2 separate regions of the Homo sapiens genome follow, and region 1 is linked to region 2. The links are contacts of gene promoters, found by promoter capture Hi-C in blood cells and fetal thymus (Javierre and others, 2016). All regions are on one chromosome and are shown on one strand. Each heading gives the region's core, a stretch centred on a gene start or on the middle of the fragment in contact. The rest is flanking DNA. Distances are from core to core; before and after follow the strand shown. Region 1 has its middle 130 kb from the start of CAPZA3. Region 2 holds the start of PLEKHA5 (pleckstrin homology domain containing A5).

What was found. The method cuts DNA at HindIII sites, captures the fragments that hold promoters and counts their contacts. A CHiCAGO score of 5 or more calls a contact.
Region 1: a contact is called between a fragment that was not itself captured here and the fragment with the promoter of PLEKHA5 in region 2, in 3 of 17 cell types (M2 macrophages, M0 macrophages and megakaryocytes). The highest score is 7.5, in M2 macrophages.

What each region holds. Positions count from the first base shown.
Region 1 is chr12:18,864,111-18,870,354 of GRCh38, reverse strand. No RefSeq gene overlaps it. Among named protein-coding and RNA genes, the nearest start is that of CAPZA3, 130 kb to the right of the region's middle. The HindIII fragment of the contact is 1,697 bases long and covers 2,031-3,727 here.
Region 2 is chr12:19,128,031-19,134,161 of GRCh38, reverse strand. It overlaps PLEKHA5 (pleckstrin homology domain containing A5), which reads right to left and starts at 4,429. Exons shown (of 32, transcript NM_001256470.2): 1 at 4,274-4,429; 2 at 4,032-4,111; 3 at 1,712-1,769. The coding sequence starts at 4,362. The HindIII fragment of the contact is 7,873 bases long and covers 1-6,131 here.

The DNA of each region.
Region 1 (6,244 bases), core at 1,630-4,129, 260 kb after region 2:
GCAGGCTCATTTTTTTTTTTTTTTTGGACAGAGTCTCACTGTGTCATCCAGGCTGGAGTGCAGTGGTATGATCTTGACTCATTGCAACCTCCACCCCACAGGTCCAAGTGATCCTAGTGCCTCAGCCTCCTGAGTAGCTGGGATTACAGGCGCCCGCCACCATGCCTGGCTAATTTTTGTATTTTTAGTAGAGATGGAGTTTCACTATGTTGGCCATGCTAGTCTTGAACTCCTGACTTGAAGTGATCCGCCTGCCTTGGCCTCCCAAAGTGCTGGGATTACAGAGGTGAGCCACCATCCCCAGCCAGGTTCAATATTCTTTAGATTTTTATCAGATAATTATAGCAGAGTAGCAACTAGAGCCTCAAAAATAAAACACTGCTCTCTATTAGTTGCTAGGACATAGGGCATTTTCTAATAATGTCCACACTCTATGTAGGCATTGATGTTCATCAAGGTTATATTTGAAGATAATAAGAATGAGGACTGTGGAACAACTTAAGAAAGATTTTTATGTCACCAGGGAAATGGCTTTAGAAACTGAGTGCCACTGTGTACATTATTAATGAATGATATGGCTTACCATCAAAGTATCACTCATAGACTTCTAATCTTTTATCAAAACCAACAACATTTACTTGTAACTGAAGTAGTTTTATAAAAAAATGTTTATGACCCAAGGATGATCACAAAAGACTTAGTGTTTCTACTCCTTTCTTCTCTAAGTATAAAGCCATAAGAAATTCCACTTCTTCAGCAGCAACTGACTGTTCCCTGCAGTTCATCAAGTGTGAATGACTTTATTGGACCACTTTAAAAACGAGAGTTTTCAAGACTCTGTAGGACTTCCAAATCCCATGGGTATTTAACAGGAAAGGGAGTCAGTGACTGAATTATCTACGGCAGTACTTCAGTTCTCTCATCCTCATTTTGGAGCCCCGGCTTCTAAAACTGTCTCTGTCATTTCTTCCCTTGTGCTTTATTCACTCTGACAGTCTGGGTCAGAGTGATGAAGAATGATTGAAAGTGTCTCCAACTCGCGCCAGGTGAACAATGTTCAAAGTAGTTGGCAAGAAGACATTATGCATTTCTGAAAATATCAAGACTCGCAGGAAAAGCTTCAGCCTTGGGATAGTAGGGCAAAGGTCATATTAGGCTTGGTTTCATGCATAGTGACAGTCATAGACACTCGTAGACATCCAGGAAGAACACATTAAGTGAAAGACTTATTGAATGAAGTTAATACACATTGAAAACAGGATGCTAGTATATCTTGCTGCTTTGATGACAGATAAAAGTAAAGCATTTTTGGCTGTCAAAGCATCTGAACAGTCTTTAAGAATTTTACTCAGAGACTAAATCTTCAAACCAGAAGTCGAAAACTTACTAAAAAAAATTTGCAAACTGAAATAAGGAACTAGTGTAGGTTGGCTTAAAAAAATAGTTGTACACTGAGTGAGTATCAAAGTCGTAGTTACAGAAATGACTAATGAAATTACTACCACAATAACACAGAATTGAGCCTGGAAAATATCCAGGAAGACTTGATTACAGTACATATCCTTTATATACTTCTGTACAGCCTAGCTTGGCCTCTTTTATATTCAGATATTTACTTCTGGATGAGATTCACTTGTGCTTTTTTTTTTTGACTTGTCCTCACATTGCCTGTTAGATTCCCTTAAAGGGCCAAGGTGCCCTTCTTCAACACACTCAGACAAAGAAATCTTTTATAAGATCTTAGGCTGCAAATAAAATCTCCTTTACCCCACTTTCCTTTGGGTTGGCTGTACTGACATCCTTCAACTCCTCCCTGTAAATCCCTTCCCTCCCCTTCCTTAGAAATATTATACAGGCCTATTACCTTCCAACCAAATGTACTGGAAGGAATTGTTCAAAGCAAAAGGTGCATGAAGAGAAGGATCATTATGTATACTGATACCTATAGACTGTGCTTGGGGTGAACAAAGAAACTGAATGCATAAGCAAAAAAAAAAAAATGTTTTTGATGTGGCATTTTAGTGGAAGCTTCACTTGCAATTACGGGACATTAAAGGGCTAAATAATTATTGCCATTATTAATAATAACACCACCCAAACAACCAGTCACTCTGACCCAGTCATCTGGAAGAATCAGGGCACCCTCTTATCTAATTAGTACTTTGAACTTTTATCCACAATACAAACGAATGTGAACTTATCAACTTTTTAAATTTTAGGGAATGCTAGGTGGCAATTGTAACATCAGAAATTCCATTAAGGATTAAGATTGCTAAACTTTTTTTCTTCATAAGTAAAATAAGATTATTTTGTAACCAATGTTATGTCTCCCTCTTAATGAAAACTTTCTCAGAATTTGGGGTAATGACGATGTCAATGATAATAATAATAACAGTAGCTCCTACTTAGTAAATACTTCATATGTATGAAACACTAGGGCGCCATTGCACTCCAGCCTGGGTGACAGAGCAAGACGGTCTCAAAAAACAAACAAACAAACAAACAAACTATAGGTTATTTACATACATTGTTTCATTTATTTTTATAATTACCAGTCCTCAAAGTAGATATTATTCCCATTTTACAAGGGAAAGTTGAGGCTTAATGAGTTTAACTTTCCCAAGGACACTTAATTAATGAATAGAAGAATGGGGAATCCCAATATAGGACTGATGGTAAACCTATCCTTTTGGTTATGTTGCTGTTCTCTCTCTCTGTGTCTCTGTCTCTCTGTGTGTGTATTGTCCATATAAAGAACCCAGTTGATTATGAAATGCAATTAGAAGCTGTTATTTTTGGGACTCTTGCCATGGCTGGAGTAGGCTTGAATTTAAGAGACACAACTCTTGCCACTGATTAGTTTCTGGCAGCACTCTCATGCCTGGGAAGGGTGTCATCAACCAGTTGATCATGTCAGCTGGAGTAACTAGTAGTCGCTAATAAGGACCTTTCCCCAAGCATCTATATCTGAGAATTTCAGAGATTCACAAATGCAATTAAGAAATGTCATTATGTAGTTACATAAATGTTTAATTTTTCCACCCATATGTTTACATTTTGAATATTTTTGAATATTTGAATATTTTCTATAAGCCATGCATTGTTTTAATTTCTAAGAATGGTTACATTTTCTGTATGATGAAAAAGCTAATGCACAGAGAGTTTAAGCAGGTTGCTCTCCAGTGTACAGATGACAAATGGCGGTGCTAGGATTATAATCAGATACCCTGAGTGCAGAGTCCATGGCCTTCTTCGTGACGGAGACATTGCTAGATGCTGGGGGGCACTATGGTGAAAAGGATTCTCTAACCCTTATGAACATAGAAGAGAGAGATATAAGTAAACAATTCTCTGCTTTAGTTCACAAATACTGATGAATTTTCTAGATCAGAGTTTCCATGAACAATAGAAACCAGGAGAAACCAGGTTGTGAGGAAACTTTTTTCCTTGTTAAGAATTTCATTATTAATAACAGAGTCCTTGAGGACTGGTCATAACTAATAGAGGCTAGGCTGACAATTAATGCTTGCTTTATTCATGCCTTTAATCTTGGTTTGAAATACTACACCTGGATAGTTTATGTCAAAACAAGAATTTTAAAGCCAGAATACTTAGCTTAGAATAGTGTCTTATAGATATCCACTTTGTGTTGATGTTTTTCTAAATCTATTCTTCACATATAGAATTTAAATTAAGACTGCTTGTATAACCCTGGTAAAATGAAGCTTGTACATCTTCTATTAATATTCTTAAATGAGATACTCTTATGAGGTCAAATGAAGTGCTAACATGAAAAAAATCTGAGCTAAAAGTCAGATTACACATCAAGACATATGGTATAGATGATTGGATAAAGGCAGAAGTTATTGCTTCATTTATTTGTTTTTCTTTTTTAAAACTCATGCTGTTCCATAAAAGATTTGAAATGACTTACAACAAAAACGCATATACAAATATGTTAAGAAAAATAGGATTTCAATAAAAATATTGAGTAAATACAATTTAGAAGAGTAACGTAAAAATCATAGGAAGAATTAAGTAGAGTTTGAGATAATTATATGTGAGTCAGTTCTTAAATTGCTATGTATGAAAAAGTAAGAACTTCCACTCCTGCATTAACTACTTTGGGTATCTCCACTAGACAATTTGTCTGGGTAGATGCAGGCTTCCCTGGGCATCCCTGTATAATTTTTAGCGTATCTGTTTTTCACAGATATGAAAAGCAGAAGCCTGTTTATTCATAGAACAAAAGCTGGGTAGATATAAAATCAGGAGATGATGTCACAGTCTTAATCTCTATAGACTGAATTTGATGATTTTCCATTGGAAACTTTATTGTGATTGGCTTGGAGTGCATTAGCAACATAAATGTAAGGAGCTACAATGCATTTGACTGTACTGGACATTTTATCACTCACACCCTCCTACCTACCTGCCTCACTATGACCCAAAAATTCAGCCGCCAGGCTGGCGGGACTTGGGAAGCCACCTGTGATCACGAATGGAAGCAGTCTATGTTCCTGCAGTACAATCAGCAGGCAACTACTTATTATGGTTGTTGTTATTATTATTATTTTTGAACAGAACAAGAAAGAAGGAGGAGATGAGGAGGAGAATGGGAATAGGGTGGAGATGGCAGATGTCACAGGGGAGAACGAAGAGAAGGAAAATACCAGATGGAGGGGAGAAACATTTAAAAAAGAGAACTGAGAGAAAGAAAGAATGAGAGAGAAATTTACAGGAAAGAAGCAGGTTTGAGTAGAACCAGAGACAGAATCAATATAACATTTTTCCTTGTCCTGGTATGACCCAGCTAATTCCCGATGGATGCCAACTTGTTCATTTATGGGATGCTGCAGGAGGGCAAGCAACAAGATATCCGAGGTCACTCTCAGTCACTCTTCAGTAACCCTCTAACCTCTAAGAACCCGAAGGCAGCTGTGTCCACTGTGGAGCAAACCCTGGGGGAGGAGGAAAACTGTCTCAGTGTGTTGGTGACTCATTCTGGTGCTGATTTGGCCTTATGAAAGTAATTTAGCTCCACTGGGCTGAACCTAGTCATAATTAATAACAGGATACCTGGTTATACAGTGGGTCCAGTATTACCAACAAAGTGTTGCCTGAGGCAGAGGCAGAGAAGAAACAGAGAAGAAAACAAAAGGAAAGCAAGAGCAGACGATGGCTTCCAGTATTCTTCAGGCTGTAGAGACCCTGTGAAGGTTTCTGGATACATATGTATACAATTGAGGTTTAAAGGAACTAACATTTCAGGGTCTATTACGTATCAAACAGAGTGCTGGATGCCTTTTCCATGTAACTCATGTAATCCACCCAGCAGTCTTGTGTAGTAGCTGTTATTATCCCCCTTTTACTGAGGTTAGGAAAATAGCTTGCTTGGTATAAGCAGGTTTAAACTCAGGTCTATATAACTTGAATCCTAGCACATGTTTTTAACTTCAAAATAATCATACAGTCTAGGTGACACTTAAAGAGATGTAGTTTGCTTATGTATTTAAAAGCAAGTAGCCATTACCTTCTACCAGAGCCTCCTTCTCTCTTTTCTGGTTCTCACTTTGTCTTAAAATCCTAATGTATTAATTTGTGCTTCAGCCTTACAATATACTAAATGATTTTGTAGTGGGAAGAAAATGGAAGGAAATGGATTTTGAAGGCAGAGAAATCTGGCCTCAAATTTGATTTTCACAGTTCATTAGCCATATGATCTTAGGAACCTGTACAATGGGATTAATAATATTAGTTTAGTTTTTTTTTTTTTTTTTTTTTTTGAGGATGAAATGAGTTACGGGAACATACCTAAACTAACATAATGTTTTTCACTTAGGGGTCACTGAATTGTTGGTTTCCCTCCTGTCTTTCAAAATTTAGATAGAATTCACTGGTTTCAGAATTTCCTAAACTATGCTCTGCAGAAAATTAGGTGTTCTGAGAGAGGTAATTAACATTCTTCATAAAAACGTTTTTCACGGTCAGTATGTTGGTGTGGAGTGAATGCTTCTAAAGAAATGCTTCTCTTAAGAAATGCTTCTAACTCTTGCTTTTACCCACTCTCCCTTCCCCCAGAGGATCCCAACCATACAGAGCTCATAGGTCAATTCCAAATGCATTAAGGAACTAAATGTGAACATAAAAATGGAAACCATTTAGAAGAAATATGGAAAAATGTTATATGTAATTTTTTCATAGTGAGTATCTCTTTAAAAAAGACAAAAACTCAAAACATAAA
Region 2 (6,131 bases), core at 3,180-5,679:
GCTTAGTTCTAAATTAAAACATACATACTCAGCCCACACAGAATAAGATTTTGTACTATCAAATAAACATTCATCCAAGAATGCACGCAAAGAAATTAAAATGTTATTGAAAATTGAAATGTTACCTCTGTTTTTATAAGATGAGCTAGGCTTAATGTACAGTAGTCAAAATTACATTGAATAAATGACCTGAAATGAAAAAACTGTTTTTCTTCACATATACCATACTACTAGCTTGACAAGAAAAGAAGTATCCCTTTTCGTGGCAATATCAACTCACTTTAATTTAGGATGGAAATAACCAATAGAAAAACATTTGATGACTGCATTTCACTCAAGTATTTTTTTAGGCCATCTAATAATGTATAGTATAATCTCCAAAGAAAAGATTTCACCCAAAAATATTCACAGAAAGACCATACCATGAAACTATTCCATTCCTGTATCTTCTGCTTTCTCTATTTCTACATCCAAAAGCAAGCATTCCTAATACTTATAAAAAAGCCCTTGACGTTTTATCTAAGTATCTTTCTAAAAGATTAAAGAACCATACAGGTAATTATAATTTACTGGAAGTATAACATGATCTTAAAAATGTCACAGTAAAAATAACTTTCTAGGCTCAATGAAATAAAGGTAACTTTAGCTAGGTATCTGTTATTGTTTATAAACTACTGAAGTCTTAACCCAGTTTGGCATTTCAGCATTCTCTTTCATGTCTCAGTTTATTAAAATTAAAGAACAAATAAGGTTAAACAATAAAAACAAACTCTTAGGTAAATAGTTTCTAATATAAAAATAAAAAGACAAAACCACCCATATTTTTCGTTGGGGGATTAAAATTTTTCCTACATGATGTTGACCTCCAGCTTTGTATTTGTCTCCAAGTAGTACTAAGTTATTAAGTTTGAACATAAATTAGTTTAATATTCTAAAGAACTGGTTTTAAGATTGGGACTGACTGGTCATCTTTTCTCTCAAGCTCTACTAAAAGCCTTTTTTAAACAAACATATCAATAAAACATCTTGACTTAGACATATTTAAATAAACTGAGGCAAAAATACAAACAATGCTCCAATATATGCTCATGAAATATTCAGTAACTATTTCTATTTTTACTCCCTGACCGTCATTGTTTATCAAATTGTGCCTAGCTTTACATCACTTTTGCTACCTATAAACAGCCCTGGTCAAAATATACATGAACAAGGTTCACTAAAAAAAAAAAAAAAAAAAAGATGTTCACGTAACTCAGATTTTTTTTTGTTTGTTATCTCTCAGCACAGATAATCAAAGATCAAAACTTTAAGTACCACATAGCTAATGACCAATAATCCTCTATTACCCAGGAATATACACAGAAGCACCAAAAAAAAAAAAAAAAAAAGGTAATTGTGGTCATATTCTGATGAAGCTGGACGATTCCAAAAGAAAAAAACGAAGATACAAAATTATTTTTAAAAGTGGCCATAAATGATCTAATTTCCAAATCAATGAATCGATGAATATTCCAGGCAAATAACATTAGAAAAGTAAGAGTGCCATTTTCTTCTCTCAAAATTCTGACACTATACAAAATAAAGAATACAGTCACCATTATATGATAAACTTCAGAAAATCATGATCAAGACTGGACATACAACTATTCAGCTGAGGAGTAATCACAGCATTCTAATTACGAAGGAAAAAAATGAAAGTCAAAAAACTCACTTTATATAGTATCTTGCACCTTCAAAAGTATATGCTTCTTCCCAGCCAGTAGGCAAATCTAAAACAATACATATATTACAATTAGTATTACTTCAATGATAGCAAAATAAGTCTCAATCCATTTTAATTATCCATTTTCATTTATTAGCTGTTTTAATTAAGTAGATTACTAACAAAAAAAGTGTTGAGCTGGCAATACAACAGATATCATTTTTTGAAAAACAGCAATTCAAATTTAGAGCCACCAGAAAAGTAACCATAATATTAGAGATTATCTGACCTGAGCACACACTGTAATATATTAGGGTGGAGAGGAACTATGTTCTGGCACCCAAGAAAGCAAAGGGAAGCCTTCTCATCCCAGGTGGAACACTCATGAATGACTAGCAAAAAAAAAAGCTGGGTATAACAGGCAACGCCTGCCTCTTCTTGGGTATATTGTGTCTATTTAAGACCGTATTTTTCAGCTACACAAATGAATCCATCTAGGAAGTGTCACCAAAAAGAAGGCAGAACTTCCTAACTACTTAATTAATGGAAAAGAAATGACACCGAATACTTCCGTGTGTGTTTCTAAAAATTTGACTAAGAGACGTGAAGTTTCAAGTAGTAAAGTTGGGGATGATTCAGGTGAACAATGGTCATTATGTGCTACATATTATTATTAATGACAAGTTGTTTGGATTTCATCAAAATGCCTCTTGGAAGTAAAAACAACCGATGTGTGTACAAAACCAGAGTCCAAGCAAAGTAAAACCAAACCAGAAAAAAAAAAAAGTGAAATCACATAAAAGAATAAAATTTTTCTGTGGCGTGAATGTTACCAAATCTGTGGGGTTAACTAGGACACTTATTTATATCACTCATAATTCCATAGGATAATTAGTCTAAATAATTTAAATGTCATATCGTCTTTCATGAAATAAATCTATCATTATCCATAAAAGCAAAGAGGCCATCAAAGTTGGAATATGCGTGTAAAACACCAGAAAGGTATATTGAAGCAAAAGCCTGCACCGGGGAATTGAGAAACATGATAGTGTATTAGTCAGAAATGCCTTAAAAATGTAAGCTCATCATGCTTGCTACACCAGCCTTTCCTTTCTTCCTCCACCTTTTTGCAAATTTGGAGACATTAGTCACTTCAGTGAACTCCAGCATTTCACAGAGAGGCAGGTTTGTTCAATATCCTGGCAACTTTAACAGATTCACGGAATGTCAGAGTCCGAGAGAATGTACCCCAGAGGCCAGCTCTGAGGACTGCTGAAACTGGCCTCGCCTTCGACCCAAACTGCTCTCAAGCCTTTCCAATCACCAGGACTAGAGGCAGGCCAGTAAGAGAACACATGTTACATTTCAAAGACAAACAAGTCACGAATGTAAACAAAGAATGATAAAAGAAACCCAGACCAGTACAGAAACTACGAGGAGCCTTTTCCAGCTCCACTCACACTTAGCATTCAAACAAGCTCCCAAAGCCACCCGAGAGAGCCGCTTCCCCACGGACTCCCTCCAAACAGGGCCCGGGTGCCCCCATACGGGACACCCCCTCGCACGCCCACCGCCTCCTGGCAGTCTGTGCAACCTCCGTGCGGCTGGCGGGGACTTTAGATCCGGATCGCCAGCAACTGAGGCTGCGAACGCCTCCTCCGGCTCCGGCTGCTCCTCCCGTGGCAGGAGGGAACGCGCCAAGCGTTTCCCGAGCCGTTCCCTGTCACAGAGAGGATCGCAGCACCCCCGAACTCCTCTCCTCCTCCTCCTCCTCCTTCATCAGCCACCTACCCACAAGTCCCACCTAGGAGGAGGAAGCTGCACGGCAGGAGGCAGCGCTCCTGGGAGGAGGGGGAGGATGTGGTTACGTTATCCCGGCGGGCGATCGGGGTCCGGGGCTGCAGGGAGGGGAGTGGGTAAGGACTGCCTGAAGATTGCTGGGGGGCAAGACGGCAGCTGGGGGTCACCGGGGAGTGAGTAGCGGCCGCGGAGGAAAAACTCAGGACTCCAGGTTTCAGGGAGGGGAGCGTCGCCACTCTAGGGTCGCGAGGGTCGTCTAGGCTGGGATGGGGGGAGAAGGCGCAGGAAGAGGGCGCCGTCTCCAAGTGCTGATGAAAGGCTGAGGAGAAAGAGGCGCCCCGAGACTGGAGAGAACTCCCGGCGGCGGAGTCCCCGTGGCCCCTCTACCTGCGGCCGCTCCCGCCCGGCCTCCGCCCCGCCTCGCCGCCTCCCGGGGCCCGCGGCGCGGGGCAGGTTGCGGGGAGCCGGGCGGCCCGGGCTCTGCCGCCTCCTCCAGGCGGAGCCCAACTCCGTTTGGGCCCGGCGTTACCTGTGCTCTGCCGCCGGTGTCCGGTGACCACCGCCTCGCCGGTGACGGGGTGCAGCCAGGTGGTGCTCTTGGCCTCCTCGCTGCAGGGGTGAGAGAAGGGGCAGACACGGAGCGTGAGAGGGGACGCGGGGGCGAGCCGAGGGGCTGCAGGAGCACAGACCCGGGCTCTCCCCCGTGTCGCCAGCCGCCCGCCTCCTGCCCTCCCGCCCCCGCGGGCCCCCGTGCCGTCCCCGGCTCTTTACTTGATGAAGAAGACTCGGCCGCCCCTGGTGATCCCGTAAGTCCAGGACCGGGGCAGGGAGATCCACTCCAGGTTCAGATCCGCCGCCATGTCTGATCCCTAGCCGCCGCCGCCGCCTTCTCCTGCTGCCGCCGCGGCTGCCGAGGGAGGAGGGAACGAGCGAGCGAAGGGAGCGCGGAGCGAGCGCGCCTCCCCGGCCCGGCGCGCCCCCGCGCGCGCCCTACCCCCTCGGGCGGTGCCCGCCCCGCCGCCCCGGCAGGGTCCGGCCCCCGTCGCCGCCCCTCCGCATCCCGGCGGCCGCCGGCCGGCCGCCCCGCCGCGCGCTCGGGGGATGGGCAAGCGGCGCCGCGCCCCAGACCCCTCCCTCGGGCCCCTGCGGCGCGCCCGCCCCCTCCGCCGCGCGAAGGTTCCGGGATCGATTAAAAAAAAAAAAAAAAAAAAAAAAAAACGCGTCCTGCCCCCAGGGCTTTGCCCGAAGGCTTCCCATCCCAGGGCGCGATCAAAGGGAGCCTAATAATGCCCAAGCCCCTGATTTCTCTCTTTCAAACAACAAAAACACAGCGTCTGAGCTTTGTTTTATAAGAGCTGTTGGAGAGCCAACAGATTTTTCCAATATATTTATCGTTTTAAAATGGAAAGCTGTTTTTATTAAAGCACACGAAAGGCCTTTCCTGTTTGTTTGTTGTGTGCCAGATATCAAAGGTTGGACGTGATACGTGGCCCCATGAAATATGAGTGGATTTAGACTTGACAAAACAAGTTTTTTCTCTTCCTAGGCCCCTTAGGTCATATCTTATAAAATAAAAACTCGTCTTTTTCTGGTACTTGTTTTTAAAGATTCACTTAACATCAGTGTGGATTTTTACTTGCCCTGTCTCCAATAGATTACAATAATAGCTTATTTTATGGAGTCCTTGTGACGGTGTACATTTTTAAATCTTCACAACAACTATATATATATGTGTGTATATATATATATGTGTGTGTGTGTGTGTATATATACACACACACACACAATCTATAAAAAATCCCCATTTTACAGATAGGAAAAATGAAGTTTAAAAACACAGTAGTTTGCCCAGTCATAGTAATAACTGCCAAAGCCTGGATTCAAACTGGCTGTAGGATTTCAAAAGTATATTTGTATAACCTCCTTGCTGTACAAGCCCACTTTGTTTTACTGCGATTCACTTTATTGCTGTTTGCAGATCTTTCACATCTTACAAATTGAAGGTTTGTGGCAACTCTGCATTAAGCAAGTCCTAGCACCGTTTTTCAACAGCATTTGCTCACTACATGTCTCTGTGGCACATTTTGGTAATTCTTGCAATCTTTCAAACTTTTTCATTATTGTACCTGTTATAGTGATCTGTAATCAGTGATCTTTGATGTTACTGTTGAAATTGTTTTGAGGGCACCATGAACTGAGCCCATGTAAGACAGGGACTTAATAAATGTGTGTGTTCTGACTGCTCCACCAACCAGCTGTTCCTCTGTCTCTCTGCTTCATCTTGGGCCTCCATATTCCCTGAAATGAAACACTAATAATTGTCTAATAATAATGGCCTAATATTGAAATTAGGCCAACCAGTAACCCTACAATGCCCTTTAAGTGACCAAGTGAAAGGAAGAGTTGCATGTCCCTTACTTTAAATGAAAAGCTAGAAACGATTAAGCTCAGATGTATCAACAGCCAAGAGAGGCCAAAAGCTCGGCCTTGTGTCAAATAATTAGACAAGTTGGGAATGCAAAGGAAATGTTCTTGAAGGAAATTGAAAATGCTACTCTGGTGAAAACATGAATTATAAGAAAACAAAACAGCCTCATTGCAGATAGGGAGAAAATTTTAGTGGTCTGGG